Linked DNA regions of Homo sapiens: regions 1, 3, 4 and 5 are each linked to region 2. Evidence: promoter capture Hi-C in 16 types of primary human blood cells and fetal thymus (Javierre and others, 2016). All regions are on one chromosome and are shown on one strand. The core of a region is centred on a gene start or on the middle of the fragment in contact, and the rest is flanking DNA. Distances in the headings are between cores, read along the strand shown.

Region 1 (6,194 bases), core at 2,038-4,537, 1.8 Mb after region 2:
GCTGCAGTGAGGCAGTGGAAAGATGAGACCACATACAGGAGTTCAGTCTCCATTGTTCCATCAGAGTACACCTACAAAACACAATTCTAGCCGGGCGTGGTGGCTCACGCCTGTAATCCCAGCGCTTTGGGAGGCCGAGGTGGCGGATCACCTGAGGTCGGGAGTTTGAGACCAGCCTGACCAATATGGAGAAACCCCGTCTCTACTAAAAATACAAAAAAAAAAAAAAAAAATTAGCCGGACATGATGGCACATGCCTGTAATCCCAGCTACTCAGGAGGGTGAGGCAGGAGAATTGCTTGAACCCAGGAGGCGGACGTTGTGGTGAGCCGAGATCACGCCACTGCACTCCAGCCTGGGCAACAAGAGCGAAACCCTGTCTTGGATAAAAACAAAACAAACAAAACAAAAAAAAAAAAACACAATTCTAAGATACAATTGCTAATAATTTCAAGACATTGACCACAGAGTATTAAACTGCAAGTGTAAGGACCCTTCTGAACAGCACATGTGTGACTGCACTGATCACGTGCCCAAGAAACTGCCATAACCAGGGGGATGGGCAAATGGAGATTTTGCATACTAATATATGTGTATATATCCCCACTCACATATACAGACACATATGCATATTCAATATGCTAATGTGCCCAGTATTCATAAAAAAGTGTTAGCCAACTACAGCTCATAGGTCAAGTCTGGCCTGCTGTCTATGTTACAAATAAAGTTTTATTAGAACTCAGCCATACCTACTCATATATGTATCACCTATTGCTACTTCCTGCAACAACAGCAGAGTTGAGGAGTTGTGGTAGAGACCATATAGCCCACAAAGCCTAAAATATTTACTGTCTGACCCTTTACAGAAAAAGTTGCCAATCCCTACCTTGAGTATAGAAATACAACTGTATTTTTTAAGTTTCCTCTGACTTACTAGGATGCTGAGCTTTGAGTTTGAAGACCCATGTATCTTAAATAATAACAATGGTTTTAGAGTATTTTGCAGTATAACAAATGTGCCACATCTTTAGTCTCTTAAAAATCTAATGGCATTACTCAGCGAGTGTATCACTGATAATCATGGCATTTTCTTATTAGTGGCACATGACTTACTAGTGGCTTGGATGGGAGTGTAAATACCGTATGATTTTATATTTACAATTTTGTTTTTAGGTTGGTTCCAATTTTATTTTTCAGAGATAAGAAGGCTGATATAGAAAGCGTCTTTCTTTTTTTTTTTTTACCGGCATTGTATAAATTATAATTTTGGAGTTGTGGCTACTACTGAGTAGAAAACATCAAGTTTGAAATGACTTTAATGGAGCAATCAAAGCAAATATTCAGGGTGGGGTATCTCTGCAAAAGAAATAGATCCAAAAATTTTGGCTGGAAAAATGAGGGCAAAAAAGGATTTGAGGGTTGCTCATATCTACAGCAGTGATTCAGCACTTGGACACTGACATTAAGGATGGAGTGTAAGGACACAGGAATTATCGCCTAAATTCAGTTGAATTAACTAGACTGTTGGAAGAAGTGCATCTATATTGTATGGCTTTGTGTAAGGAGAAGAAGGCCTGCCTGCAAGCCCTAAAAGTCAGTCCTTTTTTCTTTCTTTTTTTTTTTGAGACGGAGTCTCATACTGTCGCCCAGGCTGGAGTGCAGTGGTGCAATCTCGGTTCACTGCAACCTCTGCCTCCCAGGTTCTAGCAATTCTCCTGCCTCAGCCTCCCAAGTAGCTGGGACTATGGGAGCACGCCACCACCCCCAGCTATTTTGTTGTTGTTGTTGTTTTTTAGTAGGGACAGGGTTTTACCGTGTTGCCCAGGCTGGTCTTGAACTCCTGAGCTCAGGCAATCCACCTGCCTCGGCCTCCCAAAGTGCTGGGATTACAGACGTGAGCCACTGCGCCCGGCCTATGTCAGTCCTTTTTAAAGTTAGAGAAATATAAAAGCAATAAAGAAAAGTTGAAGAATTGTACCTTTTACTTAGAGAAGACTTCAACATTGCTTCACATCTTCAAGGATTTGACAAATTATTTCAAGGAAAAAGTTAAACACCTGATTTGAGTCTTCAATATGGACAGAACAAGAACAAAGGGATTTAACTACAGCAACTACAAATCACAATAGCCTGAAACAAGAATTTTCTGACAGTAAGGAGATTGAAATTGCTGCAACAGGCCATGGAACCTTTTCCCTGGAAGTTTTAGTTTTAAATAGTAGCAGCAATATGATTTACCTGAAGACCCAGCTCATGGACCTCTGAGGTCCAGTCTTCTATTTGATTCTGGAAGCGTCCTAGAAAGACATCGTTGTATCTTTTAAAAGTGGGTAACAGCAGTGTTAGTCTTTTCTACTTGAAACCTAGCACTTACAGATTAAAGTAAAATCCTGTTCCGTTCTATTCTCTGCTTTGTGTCTTTAAAGCTGTGTACTCTTTTTCAGAAGGTTTTTGGGGAATATGCTAAGATAATGGATGACTTCTCAAGAGCCAGACTTCAGAAACTTATCCAACTACCACCTGCAGTCTCACTTCTCCCTCTACAAAATGACTGGGAGAGGGGCCATTTGGGCCTGCCTTTGGTACATGTAATCACTCGGTCCTGGTGATGACAGAGTTGCTCTCCAGTATTCTTCACACCCTCTTTCAGTCTGTAGACTTAGCACATTCTTGTCCCTGCTCCCTACGAAGACAACAGCAGTTCCAGAGGGCTTGGCTTACCCAGACCAGTATGCTAGACACTGTGGGGGTAATAACTAGGAGACCCAGGTCCTACCCTTAGGGAGTTTATATTCTAGTTGAGGAGTCAGAGTACACATTAGAACATGCCTTAAGAATACTTGCAAAGCAGCATATCGACAAGTGCAAATTAATGTAGTGTGAACTTCATGCTGGCTACAGCCCATGAGAGGGAGAATCTGGTTCCATGTGTGTGATGCAATAAAGCTTTTTTATAGCATCTTCTCTAAGTATGCCCTAAAGCATTGTTCAGCATACTTAGAGAAATTTGTGTTCTTATCGCAGCCTAACCAAGAATTCTGAGAAAATTCTTCAGCCTAACATATGTCTAATAAATCAGCCTCTTTTGTTCTTGTCCTGGATGATGCTTGAATGGGACAAGTAGGATTTATTGGATTATACAAATAATTTAAAATATGTTCATTTAATAAAAGTCTAAGTTATTGATTGAACTTATTTTTCTAAAATGCTGTGCCAAATTACTTTCTTCATCTAAAATCATCATGTTGGTAAAATCACAAAATTAGCAGTAAAAAAATATAATTCAATTTTTCTGCATAAAGAAGCAGTTCCAAATCAATCCAGTGAATAATACCGAGTTGGAGATCATTGGGGCATTTAGCATTTAGTCACGTTGTTAATGATTTAGGCAGTTGTTTTCTGAGGCAGGGTATGTATACCTCATTCATAGAAACACTGACTTTTCAATTAACATGCTCAAAAAAAGAATCTATTAATTTCTGCTTGTTATTTGATTTTCCAACAAAGATGATAATGCTGTTTAACATAATAATTTATTTTACAAAATCAAATGTATAAGCAGAGACAACACATCTGAAAATAGCAATTTAGGTATATTTAGAAGATAAGAGTACAAATAGGAAATAAAACAAGCTTTCTTAGAAATAATATGCCTTATAGGAGAAACATTAAGAAATAAATATTTGCCTTTGGATGGGAATAGAAAACTGTAAACTGGACTCTAAGAATATTCCTGTGTGCCCTGAAGAAATATAATGTTTGCTATATTTTCAGTTTCAGTGGATGACATGTGTTTTGGTTCTTTGAACATTTTTTTGCATGCTTGTTTTGACTGTAAAAGTTGACTTACCAGCCAACTGCCAACTTGCAAAGTGCCTTCTCAGGTACCAACTCTGCAGTTCTGGTAGCTACCAGGTAGTGACAGTTCTTTAAATGTGTCCATGCAGCCCAACAAGCTGAGAGACATTAGACATAAGACAACTACATATGCTTTCTTTTTGTTTATAGTCCAGAAATATTAGTACCTATATCCAATATAAATATCACTAATTACTACATATGCATACATTTAAAAAAATTTATTGTATAAACATAAGCACATTAACAGAAGCCAGTAGTTCCATCACCCAAACAGTGTAAATTGTTTTTATTTTTCTGTTTTACCTTCCACTTTTTGTACATATGCATCTATAATATTTGCAAATATAAATAGATTCTAGTTTTGGTTTTTGCTTTTTTCATTTAACATTATCTTAAGCATTTTTTCTGTGTTGCTCCTTATTCTTCATAGTGATCACTTTACTGTGGCCATTTACATATACCTGTAAGGGAAAATGATAGTAAGTTAGATTTTGAGAACAGCCACTATGACAGATTTAGAGCCCTTTTGCCCTAAACTTCATATGTTGCTTTAATTCAATAACCATATATTATGTGCACTCTACTTAGCTATAATCAATTTCTGTCAGAAAGGAGTATGTAAACCAGGTATGCCAATAAATATATGTCAAAGAGAACATAGTAGCTATCAGCAAAATGCAAAAGGCATGGGAATTTGGGAGGGGAAAGATAACATCCTTGCAGGGTGGTTAGAATGTTGCCTAGGGCCAGCCGTGGTGGCTCATGCCTGTAATCCCAGCACTTTAAGAGGCTGAGGCAAGCAGATCACTTGAGGTCAGGAGTTCGAGGCCAGCCTGGCCAACGTGGTAAAACCGTGCATCTACTAAAAATTCAAAAATTAGCCGGGTGTGGTGGCGCGCGCCTGTAATCCCAGCTACTCGGGAGACTGAGGCAGGAGAATTGCTTGAACCCAGGAAGCGGAGGTTGCAGTGAGCTGGGATTGTGCCACTGCACTCCAGCCTGGGCAGCAGAGCAAGATTCCATCTCAAAAAAAAAAAAAAAAAAAAAAAAAAAAAAAAAGAATGTTGCCCAGCACGGATAGAAGAAGAAATTTATTTGGTTAGAAGGTTCAACATGGCAGCTTGAGCAAAGGAATGGGGGTGAAAAAGGAGGGTGCATCCAAGAACATATGTGTCTTTTGGTTCCATAGCATTTTTGTATAACTGACCTCCATTATTTCAAGTGCCACTTCTCTGTTGTAATAGATTGCTCATAGAAAATGGGTTTTAGTAACACTCAGAATCCCAATATAATTGTCTCCTTGTAATATACTGTATGCCCTGCAGTCAGGCACAGAAGTCATGGTATCGTTTGGGAATGTATGCATATGTATTTCATTTGCTTTGTAGTAGGTTTTATGTAATGGAAAAATTTTAAGATTTTTCAAATTTCAGATAACATAAATAAAATGTCATTTTATTTACAGTGTTAGAGTCATATAGGATTGTTTTCCTAGAAATAAAGAATTGACAATTATCTTGATTTGTGGAGGATTAGCACATGACTGTTGATGAAAGGTGAAACACAGATCATACAGGGTACTACTTTACTTAAGGACCATGAGTACAAAGTCATGACTTTCTGATTTAGCTTTTCCAGCTAATTTCCTGAGCAAACCTCTCAGAGCCTCAGTTTATTTCCCAGTGAAGTGAGAAGCTTGGACAAGTGGTAGCAAAAGTTTTCTCCAGCTGTAAATTCTTGCATTTCTAGAAACACAGGAAGTATTTCTTTGCCCCTCTTAATTGTGAATTAAATATTCATAAAATCAACAGAAATTGCATGGAGCCTCAAGTTTTATTCTGTATTTTCCAGTTATTCACTTTCACTTTATAAACATGACACTTTTGTTAAGATTATAAAAATGAATTTTGACTGTCATCTGCAATTTTAGACATTTTCGTTATGATTGGTAATAGAACAATAAAATGTCTAGCCTTGTAAAGAGTTAAGTTTACTTACAAGACAGACATCATCTAATTTGCAACAAGGATTAAAGCCCCACTCTGAATTAAAATTTCTACTGGAAAGATTTGAGGCACTGGCAAACTGTCAAAGGTAGTATTGTGCGAGAGTAACCAGCTTTTGCAAGACCTGTGAAAGTAAATCTCTTCGGCCAGAGTTTCTTAGGTGTGTGAACTTATGATGATCAGGAATACATTGGTGGATTCCCACTAGAGAAACGCACCATTAATAGTTAATGCTTTCACTTTCTGTTTTCACTTGTTGCCCTCATAAATGCAAGCATGGAATGAAAAGCTGTGGTAGTTCTGGACACAGATGACCTAGAATATGAT
Region 2 (5,899 bases), core at 26-2,525:
TAGTTGTATATCGTAGGTATAGTGACCCAATCAAATTATCTTGAAGTTTAGAGTCCAGAAAAAGTACTGGCCCTTTGAAATACCCTAGATGGGGCACTTATTTAATGAGCACTCGCTACATGGTATTTTCACATGTGCAGTTTTGCTGAGTAGCTGTAAGTATTTCAACTTTGCATACGGATTTGAAATCACATCTCTTAGATTGCAAACCTCATGCTACACCAGTGCAGAACTGTAACTCTTCAACTATCATTTCTCAAACGTTTCCTAACAATATACATATGTATTTAAAGCTTTTTAAAAGCCTGCATTCCTAAAGATGACACTCTAAAGAGCAAAATGACTTACGTAAGCATGTCATAACCTGAACTTGGATCTTTAAGTTCTTAGCTGGCTTTCTGAATAAAAAGTACCGATTCAGCTCCTAGCCAATCTGCTCAAACATGCTTCAGAACACTATGCCCGCGGTATTCGGAATTGAAGAGTTTTACAACAATTACGGGGGAAACCATAGTCAGCCTAACAAACTGAGCATGCAATTTCAAAGGAAGTAAAATCTTCGAAGAACCTTCTACCCCACCTGGAGGGCCTGAAAGCAGTGCAGTGCCCCTTGGCGAAACAAACCACAGTTCAGAAACCACTAGATGCACAGGCGGCCAGTGTCCGGCCAGCAAGGCCCAGCTATGGGGCAGGACGGTGCGGGAGCTGCCCCTCTCCCAGCACCCTCCGCCCACGCCGGCACTGTCCTTGAGGGCAGCGCCCCGGGGCTGGGGGCCTGCGCGCCAGCAGCAGCGAAGTTACCTCAAAACGCCCCGGCCTCGGCCCGCCACGGACGGCTCCGAGGAGGCGCCGGGAGCGGGCCCAGTAGGACCCTCTCTGACAGCCCCCGTCCCTCCCCAAGCGCTCTCCCGGGCTGCGGCTCCATCCCTGCGCCGGAAGAGGCGTCCCGAGGCCGGGAGGCCCGCCACGCCGGCACGGGCGCTAAGCCCAGAGTCTGGCGCGGCCCGGACGCCCGGGGAATCTCTCCCGCCAAGTCGCGGGCGCCCAGGCCGGCAGGCAGGAGGGCTGAAGGTCACTGCGGGGAGGCCGGGGGATGGCGGCCTGCGCTCACCATTCGAGCCGCGTTCGGAGGCCAAAACGAGGGCACGGCCGCGCCACCCAAGCCGGGAGCCGAAGCTAAGGCTGCGGCTGGAGCCCGCACGAGGGGACGCGAGCGCGCGAGGAGCCGAAGTGCTCGGTACATGGTGCTGAGGGAGCTTGGGTAGAATTTCTGGGCGGCTGTGGCCACGCCTCCACGCCGGTTGTCAGAAACCGTTCCGCCCACCGGCCTCCGCTCTTATCCAATCAACAGCCTCACACCGACAGGTGGGGCAGGACCAATCGTGAATGACCAGTAAAGAATGAGGGGGCGGGTTAACTTTCTAGTAGTAGTGTGGGGTGTAAGGCCTTCGGATTCATGGGAAACTAGAAAGAAGGGAATTATGGGAAAGGAGGCTCAGGTTATTCTTGGAGCCGGTCTGATTTTTACGTGTGGCTGTTAGAAGGCGGGAGTATTAGTTGGTGAATCAGGTCGTGTTTGGTTGGTGAAATATCCTAGAAAGAAATATTTATTGTTTTATTTATCATGTAATCACTCATTACACGTTCTTACTACTGAAATCTTTCTTCATTTCTTCCAGATTGTATCTTCTGTGTAGAAATTTTGGGAAGTGCAGCAAAGTGTAGATAATGAAATAGTAATTATTCATAATCCCACAACTGAAAAATAAGCTACTTACTTATTTCTTTTAACTTATCATTTTGAGATCGCTACCGTTTCCTTTCTCTTCTTAGCCTATACCCTCAGAACTCTTTTTTTTTTTTTAATGTATTGTGGAAGACGTACACAATTATAGGGAACCTCGGAATTTTTATTATTTGTATATCGTTCTCCCAGTTTTTTGCATAGCTAATTTATACATTTTCAAATTAAAGGCATATTGTTTTAATATAATAGTTGATTACAGAAAAGCAGGAATTGATATAAAATTGCATCTGAACCACAGTTTTATCTTTTCTCTTTTCTATTGCTTGGAACCAGATGACAGTAAAGAGAGAGCGATCGGATGTTCTTAAAATCAAAAGTCCAGAACCTGCAAAGCCAAATTTATGAGTCAAACTTACAAACTTGCCAAACCTTTTGGTAACATTATGTTATTTTGTGACTTATAAATTTGACACATATTTAAAATATAAAAATTCAAATGAGATTGTAATAGTTGAACTACAATCAAAACACACTAGAAAACTGAATGCAAATTCTTTAAAACATTGCTAATAATGGAATGACGTTTTGTTTTTGTTCTCCTCCTTCCCAGCAGGTATCATTATTGTGTATATCATTATTTTGATGCATCCTTTCAGTTCTGTGTATTTTTTGCTTCATACACTAATATACAAACAATGGTTTTAATATTTTACTTTAAAGTTTTACTGTTGCATAATTGAACTCTATGCTTTTAAGATATAGCCATGATCTTTTAAAATTAATCATATTGGATCACATGAATATGAAATATTTTATTTATCCAGTTTCTTAATAAAGAACATTTTTCTTTGCTATTACACAAAATTATTTAATGAACATATGTTTATCATTTCTTCATAGATCATCTCTTTCTTCATTGTGTGGTGCCCCTCTTTATTGTTATTGTTGCTTGTCCTTTTAAACTTTTTTTAATATTGATATTTCTCTACCAATTTCATATTGGCTATTATTTGCCTGCTGTATATTTCTCATTTTATTTTATTTTTTGTTTCATTTTTGTTTCGAGCATGTCTCTTATTTCTACCATACAGTTTAACTTTTCAAAACCCAAATTAATAGCCTTTTTATAAATAGGTTATTTTAATCCCTTTTAAAAATTACCTATGACACATATTATGTTCTAGAATTTTTCAAAGCACTTTATATGTATTAATTCTTGGAACACTCAAAAACAACCCTATGAGATAGGTCCTATTATTATTCCTGTACATAGAAGAGAAAAATTGATGCCCAGGAACATCCACATATTTATTTGTGTGTTTTACTTCGATTTATTAGTGAAACTGATTTTCTATCTGCAGTAGTAATATGAAGTTCCATTTTTAATTATTCATTTTATTTGAAGTAAAATATTCAGTATAATATGAAGATGCTATATAAATGACTAAAATTTAGGAAATATTAACTTAGCTAATTTATTTTTATTAATTCGTAATAAAACGTACATAAAGCCTTTAATAAAGGCTAGATATCTTCATTTTAGAATGACTTATGTTATCTATTTGAAATAATGTTTTTACTTTGCTTAGAGTTTGGGTTTTTTTTTTTTAACTTTGGACTTGTCTGATAATAATATTGACCTGCTTTCTTCTTGTTGATGCTTGCCTGGTTTGTTCTTGTTTGTTTTACTTTGCTTTCTGTTTAAGGTAGGGGATGTGATTGGTGTCCTGCTGAGGGACAAGGGAAAAGTGCAATGGTTTTCTCTTGCCTGTGTTCTAAATCTCAACACCTGGCTGACAAAATTGATTGCGAGGTTCAAATTGTATCAATCAAAATGTTCTCCTTATTCAAACTAAAGACTTTTGCAAATTCTAATTTAGGATACCTCCCAGCCTGGGAGATTACCAGTGGGTTTCCTAGAGGAAGCTTAACAGAAAATTTGCAAGATACACCCATAAAAGTCTCCCAGAAAGTAGAGCAAATATTCAAAGAGAAGGAAAATAAAAGAAGTAAATAAAATTAGAGAAACAGTTCAGTATGTCCAACATGTGAATAATGTAGGGGAAACATTAGGAAAAAATGGAATAAACCTTAAAAAAATAAATTCAGAAAAATATATTGTAGAACTAGCAGATATGAACTAGCCAGAATGAGTTATGTCAACAAGAAATGTTAGAATACCAAGGGCAAAGAGAAGAGACTGGAATCTTTCAGAGAGAAAAATAAATAAGCAAAGGATTAGAAATCCTTAGACTTCACAACAACAATATCGGAAGCCAGACAGCAGTTGAATGATGTCTTCAAATTGTTAACGGAAAATTATTTCCAACTTTATATTCTATACCCAGAGAAATCAAGTGTGTGAAGAGAATTAAAATGTTTTCACATGATCAAGATGTCAAAAAATTTACTTCTTATCTACACTTTTCAAGAAAACGCCTCAAGTAAGTGCTCCACCGTAACTAGGAGTAAACAAAGGAAGAGGAAATTATGGACTTAGAAAATAGGGTCTTCGACACAAGAGACAGATGTGGCATATTGCCTGGAGGAGGCTATGACAGCTGTGCACTTACCTTAGAGAGCAACCATCTCAGATGGAAGCAGGTCACAGCCTCTGGAATAGATTTACTCAAAAAGATAAAATTGCTAATGCCTTGAATATACTGAGAAGGAATTTAGCTGATTGGGGGAGAGTTTGAGGGTTACATTTATAAGTCTTAGAAAAGTAACCAAAGGGAAAAAGCATGACAGTTATTAAACTGACAAATAAAGATAGTTGTATTTTGCAGAAAAGGGAAAATAATCATTATCAAATTTGAATGGCCATAGTTATAATAAATCAAACGTTGAATATTGATCTAACTGAAATGTTGATGTAACTATACTGAAAGGATGGGGAGATGGAAAGAATGTAGAAGTTTGGAGAGATTCAGACACGGTGAAAAAAAAAACATTAATCTTCGTCTTCAGTAGTGAGAAGTCATGATCTAATACCTAAAACCATAAACTGGACAGACAGAAATAAAAACCAAGAGGTAATCTTTAGAGATGTGGAAGTATATACCCAGGAACTGGAAGGGATGCCTCTGTGCAAGGATAAGTGGCGGAGAGGTAGCAAGGGTGATGACTGTTTAGGTTGGATGTCTTGCAGAACTTTTTTATTCCTAAGACTAAGTGCACGTACAGAAACTTTGCAAAACACTAAAATTACCAACTCAGAAAGTTAACCAACCTCTCTCTCCATTCTCCAGAAAAACTTCAATTCCTCAATGTGCTGGATTCCATTACCCCTCAGAGACACTACCCACTCTTTTTCTTACTTTGTCTGGTTATTTCTCTTAATTGACCCATAGAATAAGTTAATACTGTAACTTTGCTGTCTCAGCTCTCATGTTAAAAACAAACAAAAGCTGCTCTGACTTTGCATCCCACTTCAACTCCCTCCTCATTTCCAGGACATATTTGATCACCATCTTCACTTCACTTCTCATTCTTTCTTCATCCTATTACAATCTGCCTTCAGTACATGTCACTCCATTCATACTGCCCTTTCCAGGGTCACCAGTGACCTGCAAGGTGCAAATACAATGAACAATTAGTTTCCTATGTTTGCAGCAGCATTGACACAATTGACACCCCTTCTCCTTGGAAATACCTCTTTCTCGCTCTTTGAAATATCAAAGTCTCCGTATTTCCCTCTCCCAAACTTCCACTTTGTTTCACTACCTATTCCTTCACACTGTTCTTTGACAGATTTTCACTTATAAATAGGGAAGGGCCTCAGGGCTCACTCCTAAATAGTCTTTCCTCTTTAATTCATTTTTAAAAATATAGTGGGACCTCAGGTACAGAGTGTTGAGTAAATACACTGACCTTATGACATGTTATGGAGTATAAGATCCATTCTTATTTTATTTAAATATTTCATTTCTATTCCTATTTTCTATTCATATTTTTACTCTCTTTTTTGATTTCAATAGTTTTGGGGAAACAGGTGGCTTTTGACTACATGGATAAGTTTTTTAGTGGTGATTTCTGAGATTTTGTTGCACCCATCACCTAAGCAGTGTACACTGTACCCAATGTTTAAGTTTTTCATCCTTCACCCCCTCCCATCCTTCCCCCTGAGTCCCCAAAGTCCATTATATGGTT
Region 3 (5,408 bases), core at 2,748-5,247, 1.8 Mb after region 2:
AATGATGATGACTCCTGAGTTTTTGTTCAGTTGAAAACTTTCTGATTGGATATATTGGTTTATATTAAGTAAGCGTTTTGTCTATTCATACCAGTAGCATTCATGATATCAGGGAGAGTTATGAACATTTACTCAATTCATGTGAAATATTTTTCACAAGAGCAATTACATTTTGAATCACAAAAGTAACTCATTCATATTTCAAGCTCCAAGGGCTTAAATTATAGAAAAAGTATGCCTTTTCATTTATTTTAATATCTAATTTAAAATTTCCTTTTCCAGGCATTCTCGGCTGGAATTTTGACTTGGGACTAATTCCCTAGAAGAATCACTTTTTACTCATTGTATTTGTTTATTAGTTAATCTGAGACAACTGAATTTTACCTTTATATTTTATGCCTGGGAGCATAGAAACTTTTCAGAAGAGACCAAAAGAAACTGGAGTTTAATGCTTTCCAGATGAAGAGAGGAAAATTCACATATCCTAGATATTTATTGTCTGTATTTATTATAGCTTTCACCAGAGGGAAGCATAACTATGCATAAAACTTACAGTGCTTACTAAGGCCATTTCCATCTCCATTAAAATCAAATGTGACTATGAAATTTCTAATCATACAGCATGTAAGTCACATGAGACCTGGGGTTCTTTCTACCATTTCAGGGGAAAAGAGAGGTTGTGTGAGGTGGATATTGTACATAAGGGCCACTGGAATAAGACTATAAGATACTATAGTACCTTACTTTTATTAGGATTTTTAAAAATTGGGATTTTACTATGCAATCTGTGTATGTAACTAAATTACATTTGTACCCCATATATTTATACAAAAAAAGACCTCCCCAAATTGGGATTTTTGAAGTCATATTTCATTATTGGGTGTTATAAATAAAGATATTGTAAAAGTGGCCAAAATGAAGTTAGAGATTTTTTATTTCTGGAAATGCAGAGTGGGAAATTTACAGTAAAGGACAATCATGAACTTTACCAGAAGTGGAAGATCCTTATAAAACTAAGTAGTGAATACTGTCTTGAGTCTTTCCATTTAACTTACGATTATTACATAATTTTTACTTCAGTTGTATGTTTAAGGGGAGTGAACTAAATTTTCTCTTAGTTATATTTAAGGAAACTTGATTATTATATAGTATTAAACAAAAGATGCCTGTGTGTAATGATATATTCAACATTTCATTTTAGTATTTTGATCTATCATTTGAAGTATTCCAATAATTTTTATCCATGAGCAAATAAGAAATCAGTTAAATTGGATACTTACGTATTTCGTGTAGTATAAACATGATATATAATTGAAAATATTAGAACACTTGGTGTTTCTGGTTCCCTTTTTTAAAATTCTGACTCATCTGTGGCCGTCATCAAGGTTCATTACCTGAATTTTGTCATTGATTAATTAATATGGCTTTAATCATGAAAATTGAAATATGTCAATAAATGTAACATTTGGATACTCTTTTAGGTCAATAAGTGGTATTGATAAACAATAAAAAATTATTCTAATGGGCTTTATAGTGAGTTTTTGCTATTTTAAATATACTTAAAGCTTAATTATGTCATTTTACCTATATTTTTTCCAAATTCTAACCTCCTCTTTCAATCTGTTCTATCCTGGCAGGCTTTAATCCAGTGTGACCAGTTGAGGAAGGAGCTGGAGAGGCAGGCGGAGCGACTTGAAAAAGAACTTGCATCTCAGCAAGAGAAAAGGGCCATTGAGAAAGACATGATGAAAAAGGAAATAACGAAAGAAAGGGAGTACATGGGATCAAAGGTACTTAAGGACTCTGCTGTTATCCACATTGCAGAAGAAAGGTTTTTTATGATGCCATTGATGATTCCATAGGCTGGAGTTCTTGAATGAACTTTAAATTTTAAAATCGTTATTATATAAGTAGTTAAATTTCGTATAATTTAGAATTCATAAAAATGTTTTATCTTTTCATATATTTCTCAATAGTTTATGCTGATCTTTTCAAATAAAATAATCAGTTAGATTCCATACAATGAAATTACAAAATTTACTTTAAATCCTGCCATTCTGTTGGATTCCCTCTCTCGTGTTTCCCAGAGTCGTGCTATGAAGATACCCAGATTTTATTTCAACCTTGGCTAAATCAAGGAGAGATGACTTCCCCTGCATTATCTCCTACCCCTAAATTAAATATGCAGAAGATGAAACACTTGTAAGGAACTGAGTAACCAAGAAAAAGTGATTATGCACTCTGTATGAAATCAGTTCTGACAAATTACATGATGAATAATGACGGTAACCAGATGAAGGGAGAGATTTAAGGCAAAAGGAACAGATAACATGAAACAAGCAGTGTTTGAAAAGGAGTTCACAAACTAGAATACAGAGTTGAGTGGGACCTAGCTTTAAAATTGCTAACTAGACTCGAATTGAGCAAGTTGTGGTCCATCAAGTAACCAAAACAACTGTGTTACATGTTTGTTTTTAAAAGTGGACTCACAGCTTGTACTCTAAATGCTATGTTGTTATCAGATTCAATGTGTGATAATTAACTTATTCAGTAAGTATATACTGAGTATGTGCTGTGTGCAAAGCAATGTGGAGGCCTAAAGATATGTAAAGAGAAAAATCACAACTTCTGCCCTATGAGTTTTAAGTCTTAATAAGAGTAAACTCAGGCATTTCCTGTAAATGTCCTTGTCTTCTTATCCATTTTTAAAAATTGTGTCTGTCAAAACCCTACTACCTACCTTCTCTGCCCTGGATTGGTGATCTCTGCTGGTAAAAATCACACAGCCTTGCAGATGACATGGCTGTAGACTCCAGGTCTTCGGTGTCCACGGTCCTTTCAGTGCTTTCTAGCAGTCCTCTTTTGCCTTCCTCTCTCTTATTCATTCCACACTCAACAGATATTAACCAGAGGGGCTGGGAATGTTGTAGTCACAGGAACGATGCAGTTTCCTCATGAAGCTTACAAACTCGTAGGAGAAGTAGATGTTACACAAATGTTTTCATAAGTGAGTTTTCGATCATCATTGTGATAAAGCCATAAGGTTCGGTTTAGGATATCGTGGGAATGTGTAACAGGAATCTGACCTTGTCTAGGCAGTCACGAAAGACTTTCCTGAGTAAGAGATGTTGAAAATGAGACCTGAAAGCATTGATGAATGGACAGGTGAAGAGGGGAAGAGGGTTTCAGGCCCAGGAATATAACACACCCAAGACTCTGGACCTGGAAAGCATCGCACTTTCTAGGAATTTGGAGAAGGCCCTGATGGGTGGAGCATAGAGAGAGAGGAGCAGAGTAGTGGGAATGAGTTTGGAGAATTATGTTGGGATGGAATCATGAATGGCTTTAAAATCCATATGAAGGATTTTCAATTTTGTCCAAAAAGGGATGGAAAGCCATTGAATGGCTTTGAATTTGTCAGTGTCACGATGCCATTTATATTTGAGAAAAATCATTTTGTCAGTGGATTGGAAGGAGAAGCAGAATAGATGCCTGGAGATCAGCTGGAGGTCATTATCGTAGTCCAGGTCTGGAGGTGACTCACAGTCCAGGTCTGGAGGTGATTATCATAATCCCCCTCTGGAGGTGATTATCATAATCCAGCTCTGGAGGTGATTTTCGCAGTCCAGGTCTGGAGGTGATTATCACGGTCCCGGTCTGGAGGTGATTATTGCTGTCCAGGTCTGCAGGTGATTATTGCGGTCTCAGTCTGGAGGTGATTATCACAGACCCGGTCTGGAGGTGATTATCGCGGTCCCGGTCTGGAGGTGATTATCGCAGTCCAGGTCTGGAGGTGATTTTCGCGGTCCAGGTCTGGAGGTGATTTTCGCGGTCCAGGTCTGGAGGTGATTATTGTGGTCCGGGTCTGGAGGTGATTATCGTGGTCCCGGTCTGGAGGTGGTTATCGTAGTCCAGGTCTGGAGGTGATTATCGTGGTCCCGGTCTGGAGGTGGTTATCGTAGTCCAGGTCTGGAGGTGATTATCGTAGTCCAGGTCTGGAGGTGATTATCGTAGTCCAGGTGGGAAGTGATGGTATCTTAAATGCATTTCTTTAAAGACTGTTTCAAATCACTTGTTCTTCTCAAATTCTCTATAATACCATTTTTCCTCTTATTCTCAGCAGAGAGCCTTACTTAACTAACAAAGAAAATGGAAGCCGTTGGGTGATGACCACCTCAACTATTTCTCTTGTCCATGCCTTAAAATAAATTTTCACCTGTATTCCAACCCAGTCTGAATGGGAAAGGTGTCTTCCTAATCCCTTCCCCTTCCCATGGACCTCGTCTCCTTTCACCCCCTCAAGGAACTCATTCCATTTGTTTGTTCCACTTTTCTGAATCAATCTTTCCTTCACTACAGTCTCTTTCTTATCCTCAGGAAAATATTTTCAGATGTCTCTTACTGTTGAAAGGAACAATCTTTCTTCTAATCTGTGGTTCTTAATTTTTGGCACGCAAGAAGTTCTAAAAATCTGATTGTCCAAACAGTACCCCACACCCATTACATCAAAATGTCTGAGAGAAGCATCCAGGTGTCAGTGTGTTTGAAACTCACCTAGGTGATTCCAATGTGCAGCCAAGGTTGGAAACCACGTCAGTAATTCCATCTCCCTCTTTGACTCTTTCTCTTAATAGTCGAGTTTCTTGAAAGATTTGTCCATACATGTTGTCTTTATTTTGTCACCTCTCACTTACTCTTCAGCCCACTGCATTTCAACTTCCATGCCACAGCCAGTGAAATTACCATTGCTATGTTCACTGAAGATCTGTTTACACTATATTTACTGATTTTTTTTCAGTCTTATTCTCCTTAAAAGATTCTCTATGATTTCTTTGAATTCATATTCTTGATTTGGGAGAATGATGATGTGTGCTTTTTACATTACTCTGAGTTTAAAGTGCCTTTGAGACAATAAAGGAGACACATCCAGAAAGCAGCTTGATAGGAGGTTCTGGAGTTTAGCAGGGAGCTAAAGATTTAGGTGTCTTTAGCAGTACTATAGCTTGAATTCCATGTATATATAGCCTTAGGACCTAAAGCTTCAAGACTAAAGCTATTTGATTTCTAGATCCTTAACTGTATACTGAGCTCCCAAACCAGCTTTACTTTCCACCTCCTATCCCAGTGGATCCACTATTTATCCAGTTATCCAGCACAGAAATCTTGTCACCCTTTTCTCCCCCGTCTTTCTCACCCCACACATCTCATCATCACCAGGCTCTAAGACTTAAGCCCCTGAGCATTTACATTGCCTTGTCTCTCTATCCTACTGCTACCATATCTCATCCTTGGATGGTTCCTATAGCCCCTGTGGTGTCCTTGCCTCCAGTCTCACCTCCTTCCTATCTGTTCTCCAAACTGCAGCTGGGATGATCTTTCTCAATATGTCAGTCTCTTGCTTTAAAACT
Region 4 (5,669 bases), core at 1,887-4,386, 1.3 Mb after region 2:
GGGTGCTAAGGACGGTGACCATGGGAGGAGATATTTTCAATTTCTAAAATCAGTAATGGTGTCTAGAATATAAAGGGAACTCCTTCAAATGAGCAAGAAGAGACCAGAAACCCCCTACACCCTCTCTCCTACTCAATGATATCTCTGTAGCAAGGAAACACTTTCCCTCCTGTGCCGTCAATATCACCTTCATTATGGATCATTATCAGCAGATGCACATCCTCTCATTTATTCCTATTTTAAAACACCCCTTCTTGACCCCACTTCAACTCAATATTTCTACTTCCCGGCCAGGCGTGGTGGCTCACGCCTGTAATCCCAGCACTTTGGGAGGCCGAGGTGGGCAGATCACAAGGTCAGGAGTTCGAGACCAGCCTGGCCAATATGATGAAACCCCGTCTCTACTAAAAATACAAAAATTAGCCAGGCGTGGTGGTGTGTGCCTGTAATCCCAGCTACTCAGGAGGTTGAGGCGGGGGAATCGCTTGAACCCGGGAGGCGGAGGTTGCAGTGGGCCAAGATTGTACCACTGTACTCCAGCCTGGGTGACAGAGTGAGACTCCATCTTAAAAAAAAAAAATTCTACTTCCTTTCACAAAAACACCCCTCAAAATAGCTGTCCACACTCCATGTTTTCAACTGCTCTCATTCCCTTCTTAAATTCTTACCATGTAACATTTGATTAATGCAAGAGGATATCTGTAAATTATGAAGCATAATAATAAAATGAACACCAATGAAGCTTCTACTCCACTTAAAAACTGGAACATCACCAATTTCATTGCATTAACCTGTATGTTCCTTCTCTACCCCATCACTCTGCCTTTTCTTCTCCGAATGATAAAGCCACTATCTTATATTTTGTGTTTATCATTCCTTTCCATTTTATAAAGTTTTTATCCCACCTATCTGTATTCCTAAACAATACACATTAAAATTGAGGGGGCTCAGGTTTTGTTCGTTTTTCCTCCATGCTTTGAAGTCATTTTGTATTCAACATGTCCAGAAATTCCTAACCTTTTCCTTCACACTTCCCCCAGTCTCCTCAATCTTGCAACATCATCCTTCTAGCTGCTCAGACAGAATTAATTTTTTCACTTATGACTCCTCTATCTTGTAAAACATATCCATATCAGTAAGTCCTGTGGGTTCTCACTTCAAAATATACTCAGGATCCAACCACGCCTCATTGCCACTGCTTTCGCCCAGGTTCAAGCCACCATCATCTCTCATCTGGATTATTGAAAGTTCCACTGATGTGCACGCCTGCTTCACCCTTTCCCTTGCCCCCGCATTCACCTATAGTTTACTCTCCGCACAGCAACCAGAGTGATTATCTGGAACTCCGTGTCAGAGCACCTTAACCCTTCAACTCAGCACTCTGCAGCGGCTTCTATCTCAGGCAGAGTAGGAATCTACAAGGCCCTACGTCACACCCTGGACAGTCCCCACATCCCACACACAACTCTCCTGCTGTTTCCTTAGGGTCGCTCCCTCTAACCATCTGGCTCCTTGAACAAGCCAGTGCACTGCTGTCTCCAGGCCTTTCTTTGCTCATGCTGTTTTTCGTCTTACTTGGGAGGCCTTTTTCCTTGCACATGCCCTCTTCCTCAATGGCTCTCTCTCTCACCTCCTTCTCTTCTTAAATATCATCTTATCAGGGAGACCTCCTCCACTGCTCTGTTTAAAATAGTACTCTTATGCCCACCAGCACACTCTATCCCATTCTCCAGCTTTATTCTTCTCCATAAACACTTATCACATTCTGACATACTGTAACTTTTGCTTGTTTCTTTGTTTATTGCCTAGCTTCCCGCACTACACTATAAGCTCCTTGAAGGCAAGGGTTTTTGTCTATATCGTTTAGTGCTCTATCCCCAGCAATGCCTAGAAAATACTAGGTTCAACAAAGATTTATTGAATGAATGAATGGATGTAAATAATCTCCTCACTTCCTCACTTTTGCCCGCTACCAGTATCCCATCCCCAACTGCATAACATAGCTCCTCTTACCTATCCCTAAACAAACTCCAGCTCAAATCAAAATTATGCCCATGACAGAGCCCCAGGGACTTTTAGGTGGTAATTACAGGCTTTCTCTCTCTGCCTTTCCTCAGAGCCACAGGAGACGTGCTCCAAATTTTTGCCTCTTTCTCCTTAACATCCCTGAAGGCTGAGTCATAGCACTGGAAGCTTTAGAATGTGTTCTTGCACACTGAAGGTAAAACACTATTTCTCCAAAAGTCATTACCTATTTGTCTTCCATCACTGACATAGGCCATTGTTGATTATAAGGATATTAAAGCCTGAAGCCTAAAGGCCTATGGGTGAAACATTCAATTTTTCAGTGTTATTTTGTTATTTTAAGAGCCTGTGTGACAGACATATTTAGGCTTAATAGTACCCTTAGGAAAATAAAAAGGAAAAGGCAAGATTCTATTTACTGTATATCCTTCCTCTTTCTTGGAAAATCTCACATTACATCGGAAAAACCTAAATTACATGAAGTTTACAAAATTGATTGCCTCATGAATAAACGGATTTATTATTTAAGATGCTGAGGAGCACATTTCATTATTCAGTATCCTTGGAACAAAATATTTGAAATGTGGGATGAAAAATTTTCAAGCTGCTTCGCTAAATGAGGTAGACCAAAAAGAACATCCACACATTAACATAAAACATTCATCAGGAGATCAGCTGGCAATGTGATGAAGAGAAATGGCTACATTTTTTAATTTCTAATCAGTCCCATTAAATGTGTGGCTTGTGGCCACTTTTACTGTACTGTACTGTGGAACTCACCTCAGATCATGAAGCCTGTATTTAAAGATTTTATAAACTATCCACTAGAAGGAACTAGAACCTTCTAAAATGATGAGGAAGATATGCATGACCAAACACCTTAAAAACCAATTAGTTTCATTACCTGTTTGGTTCAAGCATTGAAGTTCAATATTTCTGTAACCCACAAGCTTTCCACAAATACAGCAACCGAGAAACACTGTTTCAATTTTTAACGGTCTTGCCCAGTTCATATTTCCTGGCTTATCTCTGAACTCCCCTCATCTCCTCTCCCTAAGTCTGTTTATGATGTGCTGTTTTATCAAGGTCAAATTCCATGGGCAAGTCATCGGCTTCATCATTTGTCTCATAACATTTTCAATAAATGTTAGACCCTCAGGGTCTTTAAGACAATGTGAGATACATATATATATACATCTATGTTTACTTTAGAGAAAAACAGCAGGGGTTTCACATCTCACTGATTTTAGAACTAAGTATAGTGAAGGGAAAAAAGCTTAAAATAGGATTTTCAATCTGGAAGGAACATTTTGATTTTTCCAGCTAACTCCTTCCTTTGATAAATAAACTCAGAGAGGTAAAGTGATTTTCTTAATGTCAAACAGCCAGTTCGTTGCTGCACTAGAATTGGAACTGAGATATTTGACTTCCAGTCCTGGTTTTTATCATCATTTTTTGAAGTGGTGATCTGCATAATTTACCAATGTCTTCCTTATCCCCACATTAAGTTAGGCATCAAATCTTCAATGTATTTATTTTCTGGTCTTTCCTCCCCAGTGCTGGCACCACTGCCTGCTCCAGCCCCTCACTGTCTCCTTCTGGATACTGCGGGGTCCCTCTGCCCAGCTGTCCTGCCACAGACCCCCTCATACCAGCTGCTTCTCCATGAGGCTGCGAAATTACTCCAGCTAAAAGAACAACTCAGATCACAACTGCTTAAAAACTTCATTCGGCTTCCTATTGTCTCTAAAATCAAGTCCAAGCTCTTTGCCCTCTTTTACAATGTTCTTTGCAATTGTCTGGATCTCCAGCTCCCCCATGCCATCTCCACAAACTCTACTTTAGTCTTAGGGAGTATTTCATGTTCCTTTCCCCTGCCCACCATGGTTTTTGACATTCCTTGTTGAATTAGTCCGTTCTCACACTCCTATGAAGAAATACCTGAGGCTGGGTAATTTATAAAGAAAAGAGGTTTCACTGACTCACATTCCACATGGCTGGGAAGGCCTCAGGAAACTTACAATCACGACAGAAGGCACTTCTTCACAGGGCAGCAGAAAAGAATGAGTACAAGCAGGGGAAATGCCAGATGCTTATAAAACCATCAGATCTCATGAGAATTCACTCACTATCATGACAACAGCATGAGAGAAACCGCCATGATTCAATTACCTCCCACTGGGTCCCTCCCATGACATGTGGGGATTACGGGAATTATAATTCAAGATGAGATTTGGGTGGGGACACAGCCAAACCATATCACTTATCTATCTGGAAATACATCCTGTTTGTTTGATTACTGGGAAATCCCTAGTCATCCTTAAACAGCCATTCACTTCCTCTTAGCTTTTGTAACACTTTGGGAAAGTGTCAAGCCCACCTTGGTTCCTTCAATAATCTCTGCTGGTCCCCAGTCCCTCTCTCCAGCATGACTTGCTGGGCCACGCCTAACTTGCCCTGCCCACTGCATTAGCTCAGACCTGGCTCTGCCTCCTAGGGTGATTTTGCCTGTTCAAGACTCAGAATGTTTGGTTTCTTGATTCTCATGGCAATCTTTTTTCTTAACACTGGGTCTCTATAAATAATCATGTGTTATGACCTCCCTTGTTATCCATCCAAGACCCTGGCCATTTGCACCCAACAATGACTTCTCACACTAGGAATGTGCTCCCAAAGGCAGCTCACAGCAGGCCTGACCCATTGACCCAGGAGGATAGACAGTAAAAAGATTTATGTAGAACTTCTCATTCTGCAATGATGCAAAGTGCTTGCATGTTTGTCTACCTCTTTAAACAGTGAATTACTTAAGGTCAGAGACTATGTCTTCTTAATCTTTAAATGCCAATGTCTAAAACAGTGCCTGACATATAGCAAGCATTCAATAAATATATGAATGGGTGCAAGTGATAATGGTAACAATAAAGCCCAGTGAAGTGAACAGAAAGTTAGATGGGAAGTCATTACATTCCTGGACCAAAGAAGTTCATTCTGAAGAATAAATGGTGTAATATTATGATTTAGATAATAGAAATCAGATTCAGATACTAATTTATTTTATTATAATAAAATGCAATACAGTTGACCCTTGAACAAGAGGTTAGAGACACCAGCTCCCTGTGCAGGTGAAAATCCATGTATAACTTTTGACTCCCCAAAAGCTTAGTTACTGATCGCCTACTGTTGACTAGAAGCCTGACTCGTAACATAGTCAAGTAATACACATTTTATATGTTATGTGTATTATATACTGTACTCTAACAAAAAGTAAGCTGAAGAAAGGAATATGTTATTAAGAAAATCGGAGGGAAGTGAATATATATTTACTGGTTATTAAGAGGAAGTGGATCATCATAAAGGTCTTCATCTTCATTATCTTCACATTGAGTAGACTGAAGAGAAAGAGATGGGGTTGGTCTTGCTGTCTCAGGGATGGCAGAGGCAGAACAAAATCTACGTGCTAGTGGACCTACACAGTTCTAGCCCACGTTGTTCAAGGATCAACTGTAATTACAAGAGTAGACCATTGAGTTACATGCTCATTTCATCTGTCTGCATCAGCTAGGTTTTGCCGTGGTGACTAACAACCCCAAACCTCAGTGGCTTAAAGCAACAAAGATTTCCCATTCATTTTGCATGCCTCATGC
Region 5 (5,825 bases), core at 1,136-3,635, 1.8 Mb after region 2:
CCTCACTACAACCTCTGCCTCCCTGGTTCAAGCGATTCTCCTGCCTCAGCCTCCCTAGTATTTGGGTTTACAGATGTGCACTACCACACCAGGCTAATTTTTTGTATTTTTAGTAGAGATGGGGTTTCACCATATTGGCTAGGCTGGTCTCGAACTCTGAACCTCAGGAAATCCATCAGCCTCGGCCTCCCAAAGCACCGGGATTATAGGTGTGAGCCACCGCGCCTGGCCTCAAAATAATACGTTTTAATATGTAATGTTCTATATGTTAAAATATATGGTTATAAAATAGTATGATATATAAGAAGTGGTGCTGTATTTCTTCTGAAGTTGTTTGTTATTGCTTTGACAGAGTGTATTATTTCTGATTAAAGCATTTTATATGCTAAAGGCTGAGATAGATGTGAGTGAAAGCACTCTGGACCAGATTTAAGTGGACAAAATAATAGTCAAGGGCTTAGTTCTATCTAGGGTCTATCACATACTCTCTAAGATATTGTGCCTGTCTCACAGAGTTTTTGGAATAATGAGATAAGATTACATACTTAAAATTCTTTAGAAACCTATGAAGTGTTACATAAACATAACATGCATAGCAGCAAGTAACCACCTCACATTTTCAATGTGTTTTCTAGTTCAATACAATGCCTGTATGCTGAAAAGTGTGGAGACATGTCACTTTCTTTTCTTCACCACTGAAATATCAGAGTATCACTCCCATACGAACACTCCATTCCAGGCTGACACATACTTTTAAGCTTAATTCCTACTTTAGAGAAATGTACTTCATATGCATATTCTAAATTTATAGATACAGATTTTATAATTTTAGTAAAACATCTCATCATTTAATGAATTTATTACTATTGACATCTGGTTTCTAGCTTGCTCTTAAGCACAGACTGGTGGAATGCTTTTAAATCTACTAGATGAAGTTGCTTTATCTGTTGAATGCTCAGACATGCTTATTTGCCTTTTAAAGTCTGAGCAGTGATATTATGGAGCTTACTGAATCCAGACAGGCAGGAAGACCTTCACTAAGAGAATCAGTTTAGTACATACAGAGTGCACTTTAAAATACACAAGTCTATTTATATGGAGCTATGTAAAAGAATGGAACTTAGACTCTATATGTATACAGCCTACATGTAATAATTATAAACCATAATAGTAATAATTAGCTTTTTAAGATTATACCTTTAGAATGCACTTTCATAGCCAGTATAACATATTAGAAATACATGCATATATTGAGAGTAAAACTGAGGCACTGTTGAGATGGAAAAAAAGTTATTACTTATTGTCTTAAAATGTAGATATCTAAACTAAAGCCCTTCAAAGTAGACACAAATGATTTCATGTGAACATTTTTCATACAATATTGGCTTGAGCTTTTTATTTTTCACATTGACTTCCTCCTGTATACTCATAGTAGTAATTTATATTTGCCTATCTTCTGAACCTATTGCTATTAATGGAGGATGATTATAATTGTTTGATTTCTACTCAGGACAGATAATTCATTTAATTAGAGTTACTTTGGTTTTTAAATTTCTTAAATATACCAAAAAACCAAAGCTCTATTTTATTTTATTCTGCCATGATAGCTGGTACTTGATTATCATTTAAAATGTCTGCTGTGCTGAGAAAGAGAGTGGCTGAGAAACAGACACTGTGCCTCATTTCAAGCTTTCCTCTGGCTTTGTTTAACTGGTTGACCCTTGTTTTACCTTTTCCTGATTTCCTCATCCTTTAAAAAAAAAATTATGTGATGGGTATATGATTTTACAAACTATTTTAGGATAAGGTAAGCTATACATTAACAGTCAGTTCCAGGAATGCTACAGAGCTAAAATAGCATTAGCGTTTTTTTGAAATCTCTTCGTTGGACCCCTCAATGCAGTGTGTCTCTACTTTAGGGTTCTACTCTTGGAGGTTCTATGCTCCAGAACACCATACACTTGAATTGCCTTCAATACTAGAGCCAAAAATCAAAAACTACATTTTGCTAATGTATCTTTTTTGAGATGGAATTTCATCGCATTGACACTGGCTTGGCATCAAACGCTTCCTAAAGAATCTCTCCTTCACGGAGCTGCTGCAGTTTTAGCTAGCAAATCCTCTTCCATGGCAGTTTCTTGGAGAGAGTTGTCCCTTGTATCTCAGCATTACTGAATGGAATGTTGTTTTTCCAATTTGTTAAAATAGTTTATTCCAAGCCAGTTATACTACTGCTACCCCAGCATTTTTCCATTCACTATATGTGCTTTTTATAACCACTTTCACCATCCATCTTTAAAAAAAATGATATTCACATCCATGAATCTTGTGTATTTGTGGAATTTATAGGATAGAGAAGCAAGTATTTGTATTAGTCCATTCTCGTGTTGCTAAAAATAAATACCTGAGGCTGGGTAATTTATTTAAAAAAGAGGTTTAATCAGCTCATGGTTCTGCAGGCTGTATAGGAAGTGTGATACTGGCATCTCACTCTGGTGAGGGCCTCAGGAAACTTTCAGTCATGGTGGAAGGTGAAAGGGGAGCAGGCATTTCATGTGGTGAGAGCCAGAGCAAGAAGTGGGAGAGGTGTCACATTCTTTTAAACAACCAAATCTCACCAAAACTCAGAGCAAGAACTCATTATCATGAGGATAGCACCAAGATTCATTCATCATGACCGAAACACCTCCCACCAGGCCCCACCTCCAATGCTGGGGGCCACATTTCAACTTGAGGTTTGTGGGGGACAAGCATCCAAACTATATCAAGACTATAAGCTACATTGTGATCGATTCTATGTTTATATCACATCAGTGCAAAATTGAGTATGGAGAAGGTAACAACTGATTCTTTGCTAAATCCAAACATGCTTAATTTGGCTTTTTAAAATTTATGTATTTATGTATTTATTTATTTATTTTTTGTCATAGAGGTCATTAGAACATGAGGAAACCAATATGCCTACTATGCACGACCTTGTTCATACTATTAATGACCAGTCTCAATATATTCATCATTTAGAGGCAGAAGTTAAGTTCTGCAAGGTAAGTTTCTCATTAAGAATTTAAAACTAAATAAATGAAAGCTTATATTAACTATAGATTGTATTAAAATTTGCTGCTATAAATCTTCATGTTTGTAGCAATACATTGACAATTGCTATTCTTACGTGATTGAGAGACTGATGTGTCACAAGAGCTTGTCAGACTTGGGAATGATGCTCTTGACCATACCATTTCTGATTGCTTGATTTCCCAGTAGTTCATTACTATGTCTAATGATTTCATAATATGCTTTCATATTTCAGAAGTTTTCCTTCTCACCCCGCTTGCTGTAGCCCAGCAAATGGCAAATGCTTTGGAATACAAATACCAATCATTCTCCCATACTTGTCAACCTACTGGAGCAGTGGTACAGCAATCAGGGATTCTAAACTGGTAGACCAATTCTTCTCCGCTGTCAGTATTAAGGCTCTTACTTTGACTTTGAATGAGAATGGTTCATAGGGTACTGACAGTAATGATCAAGAAACCAAACACATCATATATAGCTTATGACACTAGAAGGTTATATGCTCAACTGCGTGCAGTTTGCTAATGTCATTAATGCTAATAGAGCCTTTTCATCTTCCCGAAGTATGTCGTGTTTTACTTTTTTTTTTCTGTTTCTTTCTCTCTTTCTTTCTTTCCCTCCCTCTTTCTTTCTTTCTAGTATCAGTGTATTCGATTGTATGATATTTTTATAGGAATCACTGATATCTCTTGTATCATGTTTTTATATATAGTATATGATATTATGTATTATATTGTTGACATTTTAAGATGCAAGGCCAGTATGTAACTTAAGGAGGCTTTAGATGTTTCACTGTCCTGATTTTACCGGGGAGTTTCTGATCTTAACATGTAATTTCCTGTTTGTTCTTGGAGGACACAGTTATTAATATACACGTGGTCCTGGATTACCAGTAAAGCTGAAATAATATCCTAGGAACTATTTCATTAACAATACTCTATTAATCCCTAAGATGTTGTGGATAAAACTTGAAAGATATAAAGCAGAATAAATTTACTATCTAGTTGAGAAGACAGAACTATTCCCTATTAACACCATAAGGAGCACATTAGAGAACATAGTATAGGCCTTTACTTTTTGGTATAAGCTATAATTATAATAAGAGAAGAAGGTTAGGAAAAGCTACTGTCTTTGGGAATGTTTCTATGGGAGAGAGAGATCTTGAACCAATGTTTTTTTTTTTTTTTTTTTTTTTTTTTTGATGGAGTCTCGCATTGTCGCCAGACTGGAGTGCGGTGTCACAGTCTCCGCTCACTGCAACCTCCGACTCCCTGGTTCAAGCTATTCTCCTGCCTCAGCCTCCCCAGTAGCTGGGATTACAGGCCTGCGCCACCACGCCCAGCTAATTTTTGTATTTTTTGTAGAGACGGGGTTTCACCATGTTGGCCAGCATGGTCTCGATCTCTTGACCTCGTGATCCGTCCGCCTTGGTCTCCCAAAGTGCTGGAATTACCGGTATGAGCCACGATGCCCGGCCTAAACCAGTCTTAAAGGAATAGGATCATTTAGATCAGCAGAAGGGAGATGAGTTTCATAAAGAGAATGGCAACAGTGAAACACAGTATTCAGGATGAATATGGTTTGTGGGGGCCATAAGCCATCTACTTTATCTTCCTGCAGTGGAGAATGTCTCATAGAAATAATGAAAGTAATCCTGAACTGGTAAAATGGAAGATTACGGAAGCCTTGACTGTCAGACAGAGTGTAAATTTGATACATTTTAGTAAGAGAAGAATAGAATTAAAATAATGTTTAAGTGGTTTAGAAAGATTTTGTTTATTTAGTTAATGGACTTTATTTTTTAGATCAGTTTTAGGTTTATAGAAAGGTTGAATGGCAAACACATAGAGTCCTGTATCCTCCTTTCAGTGACATCCCTCACCTAATAGTTTCCCTTGTTATTAACATCTTGCATCAGTGTGGCACATTTGTTACAACTGATGAACCACTATTGTTAAATTATTATTATCTAAGTCTCTCAGTTTGCATTAGCTTTGTGTTATACATTCTACGAATTTGACAAGTGTATAATGACATATATCCACCATTACAGTATCATATAGAATAGTTTCACTGTCTGAAACATCCTCTTGCGCTTCACTTATTCATCCCTCTTCCCCTCCGCCCCTTCCCTCCCATCCCCTGGCAACCATTGATCTTTTTACTCTCTCCATAGTTTTGACTTGCAGAATGTCATATACTTGGAATTATTCTGTATATAGCCTTTTCTGACTGGCCTATTATACTTAGTAATATGAATTCAAGTTTCCTCCTTGTCTTTTCATAACTTGATAGCTCATTTCTTTTTATTATTAAGTAGTATTCAATTAGATGAATATACCATAGCTTTTTTATCTGTGCACCTATGGGAGGGCATCTTTGTTGCTTCCAAGTTTTGGCAATTGCGAATAAAGCTACTGTAAGCATTTGTGTGTCAGTTTTTGTGTGGACATCTGTTTTTACCTCTTTAAAGTAAATACCAAGAAGCTCAATTTCTGCATCATATGGTAAGACTAATTTTAACTTTGCAAGAAATTGCCTAACTTTTCTAAAGTGGTTGTACCGTTATGCATTATGCAGTAAATGAGAGTTCCTAATACTCCATATCCTCATTAGCATTTGGTGTTGTCAGTGTTTTAGATTTTAGCTGTTCTAATAGATGTGTAGTGGAACCTCATTGCTGTTTTAATTTCAATTCCCTGATCACAAATGATGCTGAGCATCTTTTCCTATGCCTATATTCCACCTATGTA

The links. Contacts are between HindIII fragments. The CHiCAGO score rates a contact against its expected background, and 5 or more counts as called.
Region 1: a fragment that was not itself captured here is called in contact with the fragment with the promoter of FH in region 2 in 2 of 17 cell types (activated CD4 T cells and total CD4 T cells); the score reaches 6.9 in activated CD4 T cells.
Region 3: a contact is called between a fragment that was not itself captured here and the fragment with the promoter of FH in region 2, in 5 of 17 cell types (total CD4 T cells, non-activated CD4 T cells, total CD8 T cells and 2 more). The highest score is 10.5, in total CD4 T cells.
Region 4: a contact is called between a fragment that was not itself captured here and the fragment with the promoter of FH in region 2, in 1 of 17 cell types (total B cells). The highest score is 5.7, in total B cells.
Region 5: a fragment that was not itself captured here is called in contact with the fragment with the promoter of FH in region 2 in 6 of 17 cell types (total CD4 T cells, activated CD4 T cells, total CD8 T cells and 3 more); the score reaches 13.8 in total CD4 T cells.

The regions. Positions count from the first base shown.
Region 1 is chr1:243,348,604-243,354,797 of GRCh38, forward strand. All of the region lies in intron 12 of SDCCAG8 (SHH signaling and ciliogenesis regulator SDCCAG8), which reads left to right. Among named protein-coding and RNA genes, the nearest start is that of MIR4677, 5.5 kb to the left of the region's middle. The HindIII fragment of the contact is 687 bases long and covers 2,945-3,631 here.
Region 2 is chr1:241,518,480-241,524,378 of GRCh38, forward strand. FH (fumarate hydratase) reads right to left here and starts at 1,276. Exons shown (of 10, transcript NM_000143.4): 1 at 1,112-1,276. The coding sequence starts at 1,243. RefSeq lists silencers at 711-980, 1,156-1,438, 1,261-1,390 and an enhancer at 1,054-1,650. The HindIII fragment of the contact is 3,380 bases long and covers 292-3,671 here.
Region 3 is chr1:243,328,903-243,334,310 of GRCh38, forward strand. SDCCAG8 (SHH signaling and ciliogenesis regulator SDCCAG8) reads left to right here. Exons shown (of 18, transcript NM_006642.5): 10 at 1,638-1,790. Among named protein-coding and RNA genes, the nearest start is that of MIR4677, 15 kb to the right of the region's middle. The HindIII fragment of the contact is 2,079 bases long and covers 2,959-5,037 here.
Region 4 is chr1:242,786,036-242,791,704 of GRCh38, forward strand. No RefSeq gene overlaps it. Among named protein-coding and RNA genes, the nearest start is that of PLD5, 260 kb to the left of the region's middle. RefSeq lists a silencer at 1,972-2,266. The HindIII fragment of the contact is 326 bases long and covers 2,974-3,299 here.
Region 5 is chr1:243,271,613-243,277,437 of GRCh38, forward strand. It overlaps SDCCAG8 (SHH signaling and ciliogenesis regulator SDCCAG8), which reads left to right. Exons shown (of 18, transcript NM_006642.5): 4 at 2,931-3,044. Among named protein-coding and RNA genes, the nearest start is that of SDCCAG8, 18 kb to the left of the region's middle. The HindIII fragment of the contact is 1,396 bases long and covers 1,688-3,083 here.